Linked DNA regions of Homo sapiens: region 2 is linked to region 1. Evidence: promoter capture Hi-C in human tissues and cell types (Jung and others, 2019). All regions are on one chromosome and are shown on one strand. Each heading gives the region's core, a stretch centred on a gene start or on the middle of the fragment in contact. The rest is flanking DNA. Distances are from core to core; before and after follow the strand shown. Region 1 holds the start of TTC34 (tetratricopeptide repeat domain 34). Region 2 holds the start of ACTRT2 (actin related protein T2).

What was found. Contacts are between HindIII fragments. The study calls those that stand out against the background at their distance.
Region 2: the fragment with the promoter of ACTRT2 here is called in contact with the fragment with the promoter of TTC34 in region 1 in 1 of the 25 tissues and cell types used here (H1 embryonic stem cells).

Annotation. Positions count from the first base shown.
Region 1 is chr1:2,800,289-2,803,205 of GRCh38, forward strand. TTC34 (tetratricopeptide repeat domain 34) reads right to left here and starts at 1,405. Exons shown (of 9, transcript NM_001242672.3): 1 at 1,289-1,405; 2 at 1-580. The coding sequence starts at 539. The HindIII fragment of the contact is 12,605 bases long and covers 1-2,917 here.
Region 2 is chr1:3,019,968-3,022,884 of GRCh38, forward strand. It overlaps ACTRT2 (actin related protein T2), which reads left to right and starts at 1,500. Exons shown (of 1, transcript NM_080431.5): 1 at 1,500-2,917. The coding sequence starts at 1,720. The coding sequence ends at 2,853. The HindIII fragment of the contact is 18,700 bases long and covers 1-2,917 here.

The DNA.
Region 1 (2,917 bases), core at 155-2,654:
TGGTGGGTGCGAATGAAAGCTACCGTCCGGTCGGCGCTGGAGGCGAAGGCCTGGAGATAGGCGGCCACACCATCCGCTGCCTGCACCCCGGACAGGACCCAGGCGAGGGCGCGGGTCAGCCGCAGCTCCAGGACTTGCTGTGCATGAGAGTCCAGCAGGGCGCTGCAGCGTTGCACCACTTCTTCGTGACGCCCGCGGGCCAGCAGACCTGCCAGCAGGTGCAGGATGGCGGCGGGGTGGTCCGGGCAGAGGGCGCCGAGGAAGGCAGAGGCCAGCGACCCTGTCAGGGAGACCACTGCCATGCCGTCCCAGTGGATGGCGGGGATCTGGCTGTCCCCGCGGCACCAGGACTCCAGGGTGGCCACCACCGCCGCCCCCCGAGCCTGGGCCAGGGCAGTGCGCACACTCTGCAGGGCTGAGGGGGCGTGGCAGCTGAATGCAGCCAGGTAGAAGGCGGTGGCCAGGGGCAGCTCCCCCAGCGCCAGATGCTGCTCCCCCTCCCGGCAGAGGCAGGCCACGAGCTCCTGGGCTGACATCATGTCTGGGACCCCGACGGGCCCATGTCTGGTCCTCAGAGTACCTGGGGGTGGGGGAGCATGGTGAGTCCACAGAGGGCGGCCAGTTCTCCTGCCCTGTGGCCACCCGTGCCCAGCCTCAAGCCACCTCCACCCCTTCCCATTGACCCCACGGTCAGTGCAGACCCCACTGGGTGAAAACTGGGGGGATCCTGGGCTGGTGGGGTGGGGCCTACCAGGTGTCCCAGGCCAACTTCCAGCCCACTGTTCACCTCTGGGGCCTCAGTTTCGTGCCTTGCAGAATGGGACAGTGGCCTCCCCCAGCTCAGTTCCCTCTAAGAACATCTGACCCCTGAGTGTCCATGTCGGGAGGGTTACGGTGGCCCGAGGTGTCAGGGCCCAGCAATAGGAACCCCGGACCCACCCTCTGCCCCTCCCAACCCTGAGCCCCTCAGGAAGGCACACCCCCCGTCAGTCCAGGCAGCCCTCTCAGTGGGACGCAGGACCACACCCCTGCCCACCCTCTCACACCTGGGCCATTCGAGGGGGGCGCCGAGAGCACCTGCCAGGCCCTTGGGTCGGGGGAGCCACCCCAGCCCATGGGTGGGGGGGTTCAGTTTTGAGGTTGAGGTTCCAGGGACAGCCCCTGGTACTCCCCTATTCCCTGTCCCCAAGCTACTTGACCTGACGAACTAGCTCCGCACAGCCCTTTCTTCCCTCATCAAACAGGCAGCCCCCAGCATCCGCTCTCAGACACACACAGACACACTCACACTCGTCTGCAGCTTGGAGGCTGAGCCGGCTGTGCCCTGGGGACCCAGATTCCCTCGTGGGTGGTGGGGGACAGAGGGATGTGGCTGGCTGGAGGGCCCAGGCCTGGGTGGGGCTCCTATGACCGCCCCGTGTGGGTTGGGGAAGGCACAGCCTGCGGTTTCCCGGGAGAGTGTCAACACCCTTGGGTCTCCTGGCTGTCCTGCAGCGCCCCGCTGTGGCCAGAGGCTACCAGGCCGAGGTCCCACCCACACTGCCCCAGCCAGGCTCCAATGGGCTGCCTCAGAGCAGAGAACCCTGAGTTCATGGGGGTGTTGGGGGAGAAGGGGCCTGTGGGGTACAGCCCCCCATAGCCGGGGCCAGCCTCCACCCTGCCTGCTCTGCCAGGGTGCCCCCAGCCTCCTCTCCACATAGATGAGGAGGGCGCTTCCTGGAGGCAGGTGGGGGCCGCCTGCCCACCCAGTGCACTCAGGCTCTGGGTTTGTCCCCCAGAACTCCGCCTGGGCTGCTATGCGGGCCCCTCACCGCCCAGCCTCACTCCTCTTCTGGCAGGGCCCTGTCACCCGGTCCTGGGGCACCTCCCCACAGGCTGTTCCCTGTGCCGGCAGCTGGGACTGGACCTTCCGTGCACAGCCAGCCCATTTCCCTTGGCCGTCCTCCCTCTGAGAGGCTTAGGCAGCCCTGTCCTGCCTGCACCAGCTGAGCCAGCTGTGCCCTGGGGAGGGCAGGGCACATTAGCCGAGGGCACACCCCTCCCCCATCACAGGGTTGAGGCCCAGAGGCAGCTCTGGGAGCCATGACCTGAGCCTACTGCCCAGGGACCCTGATTGTTGCTGAGGAAGGGGTGGCAGCATAGGGACTATTTTAGGAAACATCACCTTCAGCCCGTGGCCACCGTCAGCCCATGCCGCAGGAGCAGAAAGACTGAGTGGGGTGGCTGGAGGCAGGCTCAGGTCCCTGAAGCTGAGACCCCACCACCGGCAGCTGCCCTGGAGGGCAGGCATGAGTGGGGGGAATGGGGGTGGTGCGTCCCTGAGAGAGGTCCCTCCCAATTCAGGATGCCAAGGTGCCCGGACACCAGGCCAATGCTGGCTCCTCTGTGGGGCTCAGGGAAGCAGGGTTGGGGGTGCCCTTTGGGGGAGGAGATCTTGGGAGTGGGGGGTGGCATCCCTGATCCCCTCGATGTCTGGGTCTCCTGAGACATGCCCCGCAGGCCCTTTGGGGAGGGTGTGGAGCCCCTGCAGCGTGGGCAGAGCAGTCAGGGTCAGTCTGAGGGTGCAGGGCAGGGGGGTCAGCAGGGCTGGGGCTGCCTGGCCCAGTTCTTCAGCTCCATGACATTCACCAGGGCCCAAGGCCTGTGCGGGTAATGCAGTGGGGGCAGTTTATTAAGAGATTGCCCATTACTCGGTGTTGATTACTTTCATTTTAATTGCCCTAATTAGGCGAGAGCTGTAATGGAGTGGGGCTGTCACCAGGGCTGTAGAAGAGCCCGGGGCACAGAGGTGGCAGGTCTGCGCGACAGTTGCCATCACAGCAGTGCCGATGGGCCCCCTGCGTCTCTGCCCTGTGCACAGTGCCCTGCCCGGGGCCCACAGGCACTGGCCAGATGAGCCTGGAAGTCTCGGAGGGTC
Region 2 (2,917 bases), core at 250-2,749, 220 kb after region 1:
GGTCAGTGCCTCCGTCCACACCTACTGCCTCAGGGAGCCCGGGGTCTCTGAGACGACTGCAAGCAAGCTGTGTGGTGGCTGCCACAGTTTCCAGAGAAATGGAGATTTAAGAGCCACACCTGCCCTGGCACGCTTTTGACTCAGTTTCCCTCTGGGGGGGTCCCCTCTAGGAAAATCCTTCAATAATCAAGTTTTTGTTGACTACCACCCAGGGATTAGTGGGGCCCACAAAACCACGTGTCAACAAGACACATCTACACCACACATCAACAACGAGTGTACCGCGCGTGTCTACACCACCCATCTATCCCATGCATCTACACGGCACATCCATATGCGTCTGTACCTCGTGTCTACACCACATGTCTGTACCACGTGTCTAGACTGCCCATCTACAACATGTGTCTACACCACCATCGGATTAATGCCTGCTGGTGGGTCAGCAGGGCAGGCAGGACACACAGAGGGGGCCACCAGCAGGAGCTGAGGGGCTCCAGGAAGGGAGTGACCCCGGGAGGCGTCCTCTGGGAGAACTCTGGGGGGCCAAGCTGGGCTGGAGCATGATTGTGGATATGACAGGAGAGGTAGAATAAACCTCACATTCTCCAAGGCCACCTCCAACCTCCTTAGGAAAAAAGTGAAGCTGGTTCCCAGGTTGGATCCCCTCCCACTTTCTCCCCAAGCGGAAGACAAAGCGGGGGTCTGAGTGCCGGGCGTGCACTGTTGTGGGTGCCCTTGGCCTGGCCCGGTGCCTCCTTCCTGGTCATGCTCAGGCCTTGACCTTTAATGGCCTGGTCACCTCTGAGCATTGCTCTGTGGTTGTGGCCTGACTGTGTGGCAGCTCATAGACACAGAGAGGTGTCACAGGCTGCAATCCAGGCTACCCATGTGAAACCAGCAGGCCATATCTTCAGGGCTGTTGGGTTCCCAACTCTATGGCTGCTGGACTTTGTTGTGTGCTGGCACTTCAGAGTCTGCAGAGAGGAATGAGGGGTGCTGGCCTCAAGCCAGAGCAGAGATGTATTCCTGGACAAAGGGCCAGCAGCCCAGAGGGCTTTGAATAGGGTCTACCCAGTGGGACAGACAGCCAGGACTAATGGGATGGAGGGAGGAGAAATCCCTGAGAGCTTCCTGGGGGAATCACTATTCAAAAGCACATTCTAAGTGCCTGCTGGGACAGAACTGCTTACAACACCCCTCCGACCTGGTGCTTGGTTTTCCCCCTTAGCAAAGGGAAGTGTTGTCACCCCAGAAGTTGCAGCTCAGGGGCCAGAGAAGCTGGTTTTCTAGGGTGCACGCAGGCTGGGCTGCTTCTCTCCACTCTAAAGCTAAGTCTCTGCCTCAGCCCACAGGCTTGTCCAGCACCGCCCTAGGATGCACTTGTCTCTCTCTCTCTCTCTCACCTCACCCTGTGGGGGATGGGGGACTCAGAGCCCCACCCCCAGGGCCTCTGAGGCTCAGGACAATCGTTGCCTTGGCTAGATTGTTACCTAGGAGACAACCCCCTGGCCCCCTGGAAGAGGCCTCAGCAGGCCCAGGCCACCTGGAGGGAGAGCAGACCTGCGGCTGAGGATGCAGGGCTCCCGGGCACGGTGCTAGCCCTGCCTTGAGACACCCCGAGAGCTGTGGGAAGAGCTGTGGGATCCCCTATTGCATCACAAAGCGGCCCTGGAGGGCTGGTCTTTATTTTGATGAGGCTGAGAAGGGAAGGCTGCGGGCATGTTTAATCCGCACGCTTTAGACTCCCCGGCTGTGATTTTTGACAATGGCTCGGGGTTCTGCAAAGCGGGCCTGTCTGGGGAGTTTGGACCCCGGCACATGGTCAGCTCCATCGTGGGGCACCTGAAATTCCAGGCTCCCTCAGCAGAGGCCAACCAGAAGAAGTACTTTGTGGGGGAGGAGGCCCTGTACAAGCAGGAGGCCCTGCAGCTGCACTCCCCTTTCGAGCGTGGCCTGATCACAGGGTGGGATGACGTGGAGAGACTCTGGAAGCACCTCTTTGAGTGGGAGCTAGGCGTGAAACCCAGCGACCAGCCCCTGCTTGCAACGGAGCCCTCCCTGAACCCCAGGGAGAACCGTGAGAAGATGGCAGAAGTCATGTTCGAGAACTTCGGCGTGCCCGCTTTCTACCTGTCGGACCAGGCGGTGCTGGCTCTCTACGCCTCTGCCTGTGTCACGGGCCTGGTGGTGGACAGCGGGGATGCGGTCACCTGCACTGTCCCCATCTTTGAGGGTTACTCCCTGCCCCACGCAGTCACCAAGCTCCACGTGGCGGGCAGGGACATCACGGAGCTCCTCATGCAGCTGCTCCTGGCCAGCGGCCACACCTTCCCCTGCCAGCTGGACAAGGGTCTCGTGGACGACATCAAAAAGAAGCTGTGCTACGTGGCCTTGGAGCCCGAGAAGGAGCTTTCCCGGAGGCCGGAGGAGGTCCTGAGGGAGTACAAGCTGCCCGACGGGAACATCATCAGCCTCGGGGACCCGCTGCACCAGGCGCCCGAGGCCCTGTTCGTGCCCCAGCAGCTGGGCAGCCAGAGCCCCGGGCTCTCGAATATGGTCTCCAGCAGCATCACCAAGTGTGATACCGACATCCAGAAGATCCTCTTTGGGGAGATTGTGCTGTCGGGGGGCACTACCCTGTTCCACGGGCTGGATGACCGGCTTCTCAAGGAGCTGGAGCAGCTGGCCTCCAAGGACACCCCCATCAAGATCACGGCTCCCCCCGACCGGTGGTTCTCCACCTGGATTGGAGCCTCCATCGTCACCTCTCTGAGTAGCTTCAAGCAGATGTGGGTCACCGCCGCAGACTTCAAGGAGTTTGGGACCTCCGTGGTGCAGAGAAGATGCTTCTGAAGGCCGCTTCTCGTTGGGTACCGTGGGGGGTGAACCCTAGCCCCAGCTTTGGGAGGATGTTCAA